Regions from separate parts of the Homo sapiens genome. Here all the other regions are linked to region 1. Evidence: promoter capture Hi-C in human tissues and cell types (Jung and others, 2019). All regions are on one chromosome and are shown on one strand. Each heading gives the region's core, a stretch centred on a gene start or on the middle of the fragment in contact. The rest is flanking DNA. Distances are from core to core; before and after follow the strand shown. Region 1 holds the start of FAM13C (family with sequence similarity 13 member C). Region 2 has its middle 83 kb from the start of SLC16A9. Region 3 has its middle 41 kb from the start of LINC00844. Region 4 has its middle 8.8 kb from the start of LINC00844.

The links. The method cuts DNA at HindIII sites, captures the fragments that hold promoters and counts their contacts. A contact is called where the count stands out against the background at its distance.
Region 2: a fragment that was not itself captured here is called in contact with the fragment with the promoter of FAM13C in region 1 in 3 of the 25 tissues and cell types used here (aorta, dorsolateral prefrontal cortex and mesenchymal stem cells).
Region 3: a fragment that was not itself captured here is called in contact with the fragment with the promoter of FAM13C in region 1 in 2 of the 25 tissues and cell types used here (dorsolateral prefrontal cortex and hippocampus).
Region 4: a fragment that was not itself captured here is called in contact with the fragment with the promoter of FAM13C in region 1 in 2 of the 25 tissues and cell types used here (dorsolateral prefrontal cortex and hippocampus).

What each region holds. Positions count from the first base shown.
Region 1 is chr10:59,361,284-59,364,015 of GRCh38, reverse strand. It overlaps FAM13C (family with sequence similarity 13 member C), which reads left to right and starts at 1,467. Exons shown (of 14, transcript NM_198215.4): 1 at 1,467-1,617. The coding sequence starts at 1,556. LOC124902428 (a long non-coding RNA gene) reads right to left here and starts at 2,117. Exons shown (of 2, transcript XR_007062148.1): 1 at 1,633-2,117; 2 at 502-948. The HindIII fragment of the contact is 7,624 bases long and covers 1-2,644 here.
Region 2 is chr10:59,624,900-59,627,831 of GRCh38, reverse strand. No RefSeq gene overlaps it. Among named protein-coding and RNA genes, the nearest start is that of SLC16A9, 83 kb to the left of the region's middle. RefSeq lists an enhancer at 1,335-1,554. The HindIII fragment of the contact is 9,708 bases long and covers 1-2,932 here.
Region 3 is chr10:58,957,003-58,960,105 of GRCh38, reverse strand. No RefSeq gene overlaps it. Among named protein-coding and RNA genes, the nearest start is that of LINC00844, 41 kb to the left of the region's middle. The HindIII fragment of the contact is 3,591 bases long and covers 14-3,103 here.
Region 4 is chr10:59,006,790-59,009,940 of GRCh38, reverse strand. No RefSeq gene overlaps it. Among named protein-coding and RNA genes, the nearest start is that of LINC00844, 8.8 kb to the right of the region's middle. The HindIII fragment of the contact is 3,534 bases long and covers 104-3,151 here.

The DNA.
Region 1 (2,732 bases), core at 218-2,717:
AGCTGGTTCCAAAAGCATTTTGAGGATCTGTGGATTTACAGGTATTTAGAAAGAAAGTTTGGTTAGATGCAAAATGATTATTTGGTTAGATGCAAAATTGGTTATCTTCCTATATTGCAATAAAATCATAAACGCTGCGATTATCTTTTTCTCTGAACAGGCTGAATAAAATGTGCAAGTGACCACAGAACTTCACTGTGGCTGGAATCTAATCAATAGTGAAGAGCAAAGCCAAACACAACTGGAGAATTAACTGGCCCCTGGGTGGACTTGTTAACCGATGTCTCAGTTTGACATTGAAAGGTCATGCTCTTCCCCATTATTTCCAAGTTTTGGTAAAGTTTTTAATTGCCCAATTAGAAAAATTATGAGTTTTTTGTTGTTATGTTAACTCATTAACTTACATAGGTTTGGACTAAAAACCACTATCCTAGCTGCTTCTGGGAGTAGAAAGATTAAAAAGGGGGATGGGAATCTTATTTCAAAATTCAAATAAAATAATTCAAATTCAAATAAGAATCTTTAATAGATGCTACATCCCATATCCAGGTCAACATGGCAGGAGAAATGAACAATACAAAGAGGGCAGAACAAATATCCCCAAGGGAAAGAAGCCAGTGGGGGGACTGACAGTCTTTCCTTTCCCTAACAAGGCTGCCTTTATTCAAAGGGATAGCGTTTGCGGATTCCGTCTCTCCATCCTTTGTAAAGGTGCTAGCTAGGGAGCTGAGCTCAAGCGGGCTGCTCTAGGCATAGCAAGCCCCACCCCTTGCACGGTGTCCTAATCACCAGCTAACCCCTGGAATAAATTCTCCACTCGCCCTGCGTGGGTTCATTCACAGCTCTGTAGTCCGGGGCTGGGCGCTTCCTCTCTGGGACTGAAATAAGAGCGCTCTAGACAGATCAGGTGTGATGCAGCCAGCCCTGCTTTAGAGCCTATTCTTTTTCCTAGGCAACAAAAAACACACACACAAAATAAAACACCAAACAGCAGCAATATCCCCCTCCCCCTTCTTGTTCTCTCCTGACTTTTTCTGAACGATGGATGAATCTCTGCGAGCCTCCATCCCTGGGGGTGGGGTGGGAGTGTGGGGGGTTGGGGTGAGCTCTGTAAAATTGGTAGGAGACATGTGGAAGAAAGCAAGTCTCCCGGGTATTTCAGCACTTCGGCAGAAACACTGGGGCATTCTCATTGCCAGCCTCGGGGGGTGGCTGGCACAAAGAGCCCAAGATTAAACGCGGCGCCTGGGCTGGCGAGGTCGGGGTCGTGTGGTAACTCTCCAGGTGCTCCTCGCTGGATCCCGGGGTCCCAGCCCCGCCGCCGCGCCCCGCCCAGCTCTGTCCCCGCAGCCTCGCGGGCTGCCGGGCTTTGTGGTTCGCCCGTGCCGCTGGGCCCCTGCTGGGGGTGTCGTTACGAGCATGTGCAGACAGCAGCCCAAGGTAGAGCGAGCGTGCCGGGCGAGCCCGGAGACTTGCCTTGCAATGCCATGTTTGTGTATGTGCTCTAACTCCCGGAGAGCAATCAGGGAGACGGCTCCCCGGCCAGACTTGGCTGATGTTTTCTTGTTTCTGTTTCAGCCTTCAGGATAATTCCTTCAGCAGCACCACTGTAACAGAGTAAGTGATTCTTACCATTAAAATTAGACTTGCATGCCTTTCTCTGGAAGCAACTATCGTGAAGGTATCCTCCACCGTTCCCAGCCGCTGTTCGTTTTAGATGCATTGTCTCCCGGAATCTGGGGCTGTGAAGACCGTGAGACGTGCTGACTGGTGGGGCCCAGAAATCTTTACAGGTTGAAACCAGCATTTTAGCAGCTGCGGGAGAGAAATTAAAACCAGCTGATTGCTTGCAGGAGCTCAGTGCTCCAAGATATGTGTTCTTGGAGCTCAGATTTTTAAAAATCCATTTGATGTGTTAGGAAGCTTTGTTGTATTTTGCCAACATTGGTGTCAGTTTTCATGGAGTGCACACTATATACATTTACAGCAATAGAAGATAGATGTGAAATGAGCTGAATTCCAGCATGTGGTAAACAGGCTAAACTTATCTTGGCCCTCTCTTGTCTACAGATTTTTAAGGCATATCAGAGTAAACTTTTTGTGCATGCCCTTTGTCATGTTTGTCTTCTGACTACAGAGATGTGACTATGGGACGAATGAGTCACCTAGTCCTATGGTTAAAGCTGTTGATTAGGGCAACTAACACCCTTCAAACATGGAATGAAGGAGTGTGAATGAAGGAGCGTACCAGCAAGCACAGTATTTTTTTAAAGATATTTATATGCTATAGTTTTAATTTTTGACATCCCTTCCTTAATGTTTTCCTAATATTATACTATATTTGTTAAAAATTAACAGGTAGTGTATTTTGCTAATACTGTATGTAATTTATATATACATATATATATATGAATATGTACTTCATCTAGCATTCTTTCTCTAGGCTAATTCATGATGTTTACTTCTGGGACCTTTGTAGAAGCCACTCTAAACATCTTTTCAGGAAAAAGGCATGTGTAAAGTTGTATCCTCAACTACATTTAAAAAATGTTATGAGTTTGATGTAGAAGGCTTAACTAACTGGGGAGCTGTTTGCTAAAATTCCCTAAAAAGCAAATAAATGTTTTGCTTTTGGCTTCCAAGTCCTGCCACTATCACAATGACTTGGTGAGGGAGGGATAAGGTTTACAGTGCTTCCTAGGCCCTCTTGTTTTCCACATTCTTTTGTTTCT
Region 2 (2,932 bases), core at 321-2,820, 260 kb before region 1:
CCTGCATTGGTGTCTTTCTATTACTCATCTTCAACCAACAAATACACAAAGTACATATGCACAGTACACACATGTATAAGTGCTTAACAGGACTGGAAGCAGGGGGAATAAGGCTGGTCAAGGTTTGTCCTGCCACCCATGAGCTCATATGCTTCCTGAGGAGACCAATATACAATTAGGATACAAGTTGAGAAATGTCATGGCAGAGATAAGTGCAAACTTCATAGGTGTGAGTGATATTTGAAATAGTTGACAACTGGCCAGGTGCGGTGGCTCATGCCTGTAATCCCACAGCACAGGGAGGCTGACGTGGGAGGATTGCTAGAGCCCAGGAGTTTGAGATCAGCCTGGGCAACATGGTGAAACCTCGTCTCTACAAAAATTACAAAAATTAGCTGGGCGTGGTGGCTCATGCCTGTAGTCCCAGATACTCAGGAGGCTGAGGTGGGAGGATTGCTTGAGCCTGGGGGGTGGAAATAGCACCACTGCACTCGCTCCAGCCTGGGTGACAGAGTGAGTTAGACCCTGTCTCAAAAAAAGCAACAACAACAAATACCAAATATTTAACAATTGTTAGAGTCACTGCAAAGGCTGTTTCTTACCCACAGCCAGGGCAGTGTGACTAAGACATGCCAGATGGGAATAGGGCATTCTCTTTTGGGTCCAGGCCCATCCTGGGAGTGGTGGGATGGATGTGAGGGAATGAGGGGCCTCCGTCAAGCTGGCTGGGTGGCAGGCGCTGCACGGCTCTGAGGGATTGAGCAGCCGAGGCAGTGGGACATAGTAAGGGGCTGAGGCCCAGGGCAGTGTAAGCATCCCATTGGTGTGGAAGTATTTCCATATTTTACCAATGATATGCTCTTTGAGAAGCAATATCCCATGGAAATATAATGAGAGCAATATCTATGTAATGAAACATACTTAGGAGACAAAGAATAAAAGTAAAAAGAAACAAGGGAAATTAAATTTGGCATTTGTCTTACTCAGTAGGTCCAAAATGTTATCTCAACATGTAACTAATATCCAACTGATTAATGAGCGATTTCACTCTTTTTGTTGTTGCTGAAATCCAGTGTGTATTTTCAGTTTAGAGCCTGCCACCTGTGGTTACCGTATTGCACAACACAGGTCTAGTAGGAAGGATTGTGAGAAAAGCAGCCCTCTGTGCTCCCTGGATTTTGGGGGAGGTGACCTTCCAGTTGCCTGGAATTTTCTGCAGGATCTGTCTGTGGTTTTCTTCTTTGATTAGCCCACCTGTAAACCCACGCAGCCCTTAACAGGTGCAGAATTTACAATGAGACACAGTAGCTCTTTCAGCACTGAGCTCCATTACACTAATTATCTGGCCTATGGCTTAGTGCTGCCTTCATTACCAAACCAAAGGCTTAATTGCTCTTTTAAGCTCCTTTGAATTTTTAGACTCAATTTACCTGCAGCCTCCTGAAACTCAGGCACCCGAATTTACTAAGGATAAGTGGGGATTTGCTGTGTGCTGAGGCCTTGTTAGGCCCTCCTAGACTTGCATTTTCTTTTTTATTCAGCGAAGTGAGATAATGGTCTTTTCTTTCCTTTTGCCTTCCTCACAGTTGGTGACACCTGCAGGCTGAAGCAGCATTTTCTGTACTTTGGCACCACCTTGTGGTTCAGCTGAAAAAAGTCTAGAAATGGGCCGCATCCATCTTGGGCTCATTGAGCATCATGAACAGTCTTGAAGGGCCATCTGGCTTTTGTTATCTCCTTCAGCCTGAGAAGAAATGAGATTTGTTACTGGATAGGGAATGTCTCCTATAGGCTAAACCGCCTGCTGAGAAATCCAACGAGGTAATGGCTCCAATTTGAACTAAGCAGAGAGTCATGCAGAAACATCAATCCAGGCTGCCGCTGTTCTCTATTATTTAGATTGAATTGTGTCTACTTTCCACAGATGACTCGGCTCAGCCAGAGAACTTGGCATCTCTGTGTGCTGTTACTGTAAAATGGGGAGTGATTGTTTTCAGCTGCTCCAAGTTAGGAATTAGCTCCTGGCCATTGATAATACCTCCTGGAAACCGTGCTCACTTCATTGGATCCACAACCCCATCTGCAGCTGAATTTTATCAACAGACATGTTGCTTTGGCCAGCATTGGTTGAATATAGTGTTAGAAAACGGACAGATTGTACAGAGGTTTTGCCAAGATCCGTGTCCCAGTAATTTTTACTGTGAGTAACTTTATGCACTTCCCTGTTATTCTACACCTGTACTCCTTAATTCCCTTATCATTTGTTCCTGCGCCAAAGGTGTGTGAGTTTGCAATTTGCTTACTGGTATGGAGAGGCTGTTTGATTTGCTTGTGGTCACTGGCAGATTCTTTTTTTTTTTTTAATTTTTATTTTAGGTATGGGGTACCTGCGAAAGTTTGTTACGTAGATAAACACGTGTGTCACGGTGGTTTGTTGTACATATTAATACATCACCCTGGTACTAAGCTCAGTACCCAATAGTTCCCTTTTCTGCTCCTCTCCCTCCCTCCCCACTCAATAACACCCCAGTGTCTGTTGTTTCCTTCTTTGTGTTCATGAGTTCTTCTTATTTACCTCCCACCCATATGTGAGAACACACGGTATTTGGTTTTCTATTCCTGCTTGCTAAGGATGATAGCCTCCAGCTCTATCCTGTTCCCACAAAAGACATGATCTCATTTTTCATGGCTGCATAATATTCCACAGTGTATATGAACCACGTTTTCTTGTCTGTCACTGATGAACATTTAGGTTGATTCCATGTCTTTGTTATTGTGAATAGTGCTGCGGCGAACATTCGCGTGCATGTGTCTTTATGGCAGAATGCTTTATATTCCTCTGGGTATATACCCGGTAATGGGATTGCTGGGTCGAGTGGCAGTTCTGCTTTTAGCTCTTTGAGGAATCACCATACTGCTTTCCACAGTGGTT
Region 3 (3,103 bases), core at 560-3,059, 400 kb after region 1:
ACAGCCAGAGGAGATGAATAACAAACTGAGCTATATTTAGATAATATAATAATAATCAGCAATAAAAAGGAATGAATTAATACACCCTACAACATGGATGAATCTCAGAAATATTATGACAGGAAGAAAGTTTAACTATAATATACAAAATGTATGACTCCATTTATATGAAGTTCTAGAAGAGGCAAAATGAATTGGTGGTGATAGAAATCAGATCAGTGGTTGCTTCTGGGAGTAAAGAGGAGTTGACTGGAAAGGTGTATGAGGGAATCTTCTGGGATGATGGAGATGCCCTTTGGCTTGATAGGGGCATGGATTATACAAGTATATTCATTGGTTAAAACTGATTGAACCATACACTCATAATTGGTATATTTCACTGTATGTGAATATCTAAAAATCTGTTTAAAAATTGTATCAATGTTAAATTCTTTGGATATAATAACAATATTGTAGTTAGGAGATATGCCCTAAAATATTGATGGGTGAAGCATTATAATGCCTGAAATTTATTTTAAATGGCTCTGGAGGAAAGAAGCAGATATAAAGAGAGAAAAAGCATGTGAGGCAACATTTAATAATTGGTATATCTAGGGGAAGGATAGTAGCTTTTATAAGCTTTTCTGTAGATCTGAAAATTTTCAAAGTAAGAGAAGGGAAAAAATCATCAAAACAGTACAAACAAAAACAAAAACAAAACTATTCTCTTAGCTATCATTTCCTCAATAAGAGGAATGGGAAATTTAAATCAATACTACATTCTACTTACTCTGTCACATGTAAGAATGTCCAGTTCCGCCATAGATTCCTTATTATAAAATGTGTTTAGCTGTTCATTTCATTCTTTTGAAAGGGCAAAAAAAAATTAAAAATTATCTCAGAAGAACACTGGTCAAAGGTAGCAACTTGCTGGGCTACTGCTTTGACTTAACCAGGTCCCATCTAACATTTACTGGAAATACATAAACTTCCACTTACCTAAAATTTGCACTACTTTTAAAATCTTTTCAACTGCCTGGAAATACCTATTTCCCAAGGCTTCTGCACAAGCTAATTGGTAGCTCAAATGATTTGCCAAATGATCAACATTTGATCTGATTTGCATTCCAGGATGATCAAGCATAAACTGGGTCTGGAAGCTTCATTGATAGAGTGCCTGCCATAAATGTCACAGGTGAGAAAGGGCAAGTGCCTGGCCTGTTCTTGGATAACTTCCCATGGAGGCAAAAGGCAGAGCAGCTTTAACTCACTGTGTAGATTATACTGTCTCTCAGGATGTCAGAGGGGTGAGAAAGCAAAGATGTGAATTTATAACGTAAATGTGTGAAAAGAAAAGGGTATGCCAGGTTCAAGAGAGATTTACTACGAAGATTTGTTTTAGAGGAAGTGCATTCAGAAATTGCGGGCACCAAATTTTGGTACTCTTGGCTCAAAAGGCAATAGGGAAACAACATTTTTCGGTTACATGGTGTACATGGCAGATAAAAAGTAGGGGTACCAGATGAAGTTTCTGTCAAGGAATTAGCAAGATAGTTAAGGAGGCTGCAGGAAAGTTTTGGGATATCAGGCAAACATCTTCTGGAAAAACACTATAAGAACAACCCTGAATGGTTGGCTAATAATGAGAAAAAGTTAGTTATTTCCTGAACTACCTTCTGCTTCTGGGTAACAGTAGTGGAAAGAGGATGTCTGACACCTTAAGGATGGTGTAAAAATTGTGTTTTTCCATGAAGATGGTGATTCTCTTAGAAAACCTAGAGGCACAGCTGATTTCATGCACAGGTTGAACAGGTAACCACCAGGGCATGGATTTTTAAGAATGCTTAAGAATTCTCCATCCTTGGCTTTAGATTTCCACTACAGCATCACTCCTATGGATTACTAACAATGCATTGAATTTATAAAGTGCTTTAAGTTTATCAAGCACTTTCACATACCCTTCCACATCTGGACCTCACTACTCTGTAAGGTATAAACAGTGGGGATTTAAACCTGTTTTATAATGAGGATCTTAAAGCTTAAAGCCCAAGGTCACATAGCCAAGACTCAAGTTCTATCTTCCAATTCCTCTTTCCATTATGCTGCTTGATAGACAGGCAGGTACAATGGCTAGGTAGGGAAGGTTGGCTCTGGTGTGCCTTGTAGACTCCCCTCAGCATGGTAACTTGGACAGGTTTAGCAGATTAGATAGCTAGAGACTTACTGGCAAAAAAAAAAAAAAAAAAATCTGTTCTTAAAGGACAAAGGGAAAAAGGATGTATATTTTCTATGGAAGTATCTATTTATTTTGGCCAGAAGAGGAAGATCAGGCATGGGTAGGGAATTCTGATCGGCACATGAGGTCTAGAATTGTGTGTGTATGAAGCACATGGACCAAAAAAAAGTAACCTGAGACTATGACCAATCTTGGAGAAAGGACTGTATCCAGCAGGTGACACCAAAGGCTAAGTGTCCATTATATCTTTCAGCCAAGGGTAATCTGAGGATAGCATTTTACTGTTTCTTCTCAAGGGAATTGACTTTCCTAAAAGAATACATTTCAGCAGGCTAAGAAATTCCTGGGCATTCAAGTAGATAGTTATTTCTTTATTCACCTTGCTTCTCCTGCTTGCTTTAATATGCAGTGTAGAGGAAATTAGATCTCACTGGTAATTAGAGGTGGGTTCAACTCACTGCCCTGGTAGGTCTGTGCCACAGCTCCCACGTGACCTTCAGCTGTTCTGAGTTTGCTTCAGTTATCTGGGAACTGAGGGAGACTTCTTAAAATAAGTGTCTCCTAGCACTAACATTTTCTGCTTCAGTGGAACGAGATGTAGAAAATGGTTCTCCTTGGTCCCTTCTGTAGCCGGCCTTTTGAAGTCATCTAGCAGATACACATGCTCCCATTTTGTCTATCTAGAAGCTCCTGGGCATGTGCAGAGGAAATTCCATTGTCCTGATGATCACAGTTCCACTGGGAAAGTGTTGTGATCTTCATTGATCTTCATTTCTACTGCTTCTTTCCCTTCCCCTCAGCATTCCAGTGACAATAGTCACTGCTCTGAAATTCATTATTCTTCAGATAGCCAAAGAACCCTTTAGGCTCCTTTCTGGAATCTTTCCT
Region 4 (3,151 bases), core at 621-3,120, 350 kb after region 1:
GACAGACCTTGCTCTTGGCTCTGAATAGGTTGTTTGGTCTCTGTGGCCCTCAGTTTTTTCACTTATAAAATGAGTAAAGCTGGGTGAGACGGCATGTGACTATCGTCCCAACTATTCAGGAGGCTGAAGTGGGAGGAGCTTGAAGCCAGAAGTTCGAGGCTGCAGTATGCTATGATCATGCCTGTGAATAGCCACTGCACTCCAGCCTGGGCAACAAAGCAAGCTTCCATCACTAAAAATAAATAAAATAAAACGAAAAAGAAGAAGAAGAAAGAAAGGAAAAAAAAAAAAGGAAAACTGAGGGGACTCATTGTTCCTGTCTCAGGTACTGAGACCAAATGAGGTAACACATGTATAATAAAATGCTTGGCACATAGGATGTGCTCAATATACTTGAAGTGTTATTTTAAAAAACTTACTGAAAGTTTCTGCCTATACTTCGGGGGGGATTTCATTTTGTTATAAAGACTTTAATTTCAGGCTTTTTTTTTAACTCTTATGCAAAGTTCACTGAGGAACAGCTACCTCATTCAGTTATATATATTTGGTTATATATTAAGCAGCACAAAGAAACACAAAAATCAAGGATGAGTCAAGTCCAATTAAGCTAAGGAAGTCAGTTTCATCTTTATCAATGGGTTGCAATACTGTATTGCTGTTCCCCTATTTCCCTTATATACAAATCTTCCCACGTGCTTCTTTTTCTGGGATGTTGGAATGATGTACGATGAAGGTTTCTCAAGTACTAGTGAGACTGAAGTAATTTTCTACATAATGTACCACAAACAGATTTAGAAATGTCGATTTTAGATGCTATGATGCATACTCAAATTTTCCATGCAGCAGGTTAGATAGTAGCATGACTAAGTTGAAGGGCCAGTGATCTCAAATGTCTCATTGGTGTTTCATATACTGAAATATTAACAAAGTAGAAAATCAAAATGAGAGCAATTTAGGGATTCTCATGTCCCCTGATTACAGGCTAATTTCTATGGGTCCAATTTCAGACAAAGAAAAGAGTGATAATGGAAAGGAACACAGCCGGGAAAACAAGAATGACAAAAAGCACAGAAAAAAGGGAATTGAAGCGAAATCACAGGGTCATCATCAAAAGACCCCATCTCCACAAAACAACACTATTACAATCCTCCCTCTTCTCAGAATCCTCAGCTGGGCTACTGGGCTGCTCTATCAAAAAATTGGCAACCCCTGTATACTGCAGTGCATCAAGCACTGTTTATTGCCAGTTGAAAAGAAAGCTTGTTTGCATTTTAGAACACTCTGGTCTGAGATGACTTTTCAGTGCTGCCTGGGAGCCAAGTTCCCCAGGAGAATCACAGGGTCTCTTCTGATCCCCACCTTTTCTTGGACATGCTCGGCAGCTGAGACTGCCTTGTGCCTAAAAGTCAGCTGGTTTGCAAGAGAAAATGTCCAGAAAATGTCCTGCTACACACTGGGAGGGTCCATAAGAAAGTAAGGCTGGGGCAGTTCTGCTGTGAGAGGGCGGAATGTGGAAAGAAACAATGCAAAGATGTTGGTAAATTCCACTGAAGGCTGAGGGACAAAAGAACAACTTTGTATTAATTAGGTTTTTGTTTGTTTTTGTTTTTTGAGACACGGTCTCACTCTGTCACCCAGGCTGGAGTGCAGTGGCGCAATCTCAGCTCACTGCAACCTCTGCCTCTCAGGCTCAAGCAATTCTCCTGCCTCGGCCTCCCAAGTAACTGAGACCATAGGCACATGCCACCACACCTGGCTAATTTTTGTATTTTTAGTAGAGACGGGTTTCGCCATGTTGCCTAGGCTGGTCTCGAACTCCTGACCACAGGATCCACCTGCCTCCGCCTCCCAAAGTGCTGGGATTAAAAGTGTGAGCCACCGCGCATGGCCAGTTAGGCTTTTTTAATGGTGCCAGTAACAACACCCCAACTCAAACCTGTAAGCAACAAACGAAATTTGATTGACTCACATAACTCAAAAGTTAGACTCAGGAATATTTAGATCAGATGTTCAATGGTTTCTTTGGACTCTCTCTATTTGCTGGGCAGCTGTCCCCTGTGCTGACTTATTCTTAGGCAGGCTCTCCCCAGTGATGGCGAAAGTGATCACAAGCCAAACTTACTTTTAACCAGTTTCAAAACCTCATCTGGAGGAGTTCACTTCCTTCCCAATAATTCAAGCAGCAATTTGGGGACTAGCTCTGGGCCATGTGCCTAGTATGGGTATGGACAATTCTCTAAAGGAAAATTGAGGTCCTGTTACCAGAAGAAGGAGAGATGGACTTGGGACTGTTGAAAACCAACTAAACAACTTACCCACTGGGCTTTTTGGATACTCCATTTTAATTATTAACTAGAAGCAGAAGTTGCACAATTGAAGATAGCCCTTTATTTATCTCTTTACACATTGACTCATAATCATCTATGATTTCTCCTCAGGAAAATATCAAAGACTATGATACACTAGGGCACCTGAGTGTCATGCCATTTTGAAGCTTAGACAGAATACCAATAGAAATGACAAGTTCTTCCTGTGAGTTTGCTGACACAGGGTTCTTTAACACCCATGCTAAATTAAGCAGCTAAATCAAGAGCTACCTCCCATAGCTCCAAGGTAAAGCAAGGATGCGTCAGCCAATTTTCTGACAGAAATTGATAGCTTTTGTGTGCGTGTGTGTGTGTGTGTGTAAGTGCCTTCATATTTCCGACCCCTTCCATGTTTCTTTCCATTTTGCTGACCACAAGGAACCATCATTATTTACATTAGCAATTCCCAATTGTTTTTAAAAAGTGAGAATTCCTTTCTAAGAATTCATAAATGTCTCATGATAGTAGTAAAATCTCTTGCCTATATTTACATATTGAATAAGAAAATACATACTGTCAAATAAATTTAATGTTATTAAAACCATTTGTGTCATATTGATTACAACACCTACTTACATGTGAAAAATGAATAGTATATGTATGTATAAGATGTATTATTGTTTTCCATCTATGTAGGGATATGTAGATGTCTTGCAATAATTACATAAACCTTTTCTGTAACAAGGTCAAGGAATTGGGGTCAGGTGACAGAATGATTCTTTTGTAGCTCCAGTGTTTGTTTTAACCCAGAAGGCCAAGGTCTCCAGATGTTAGGTCACAGCCCT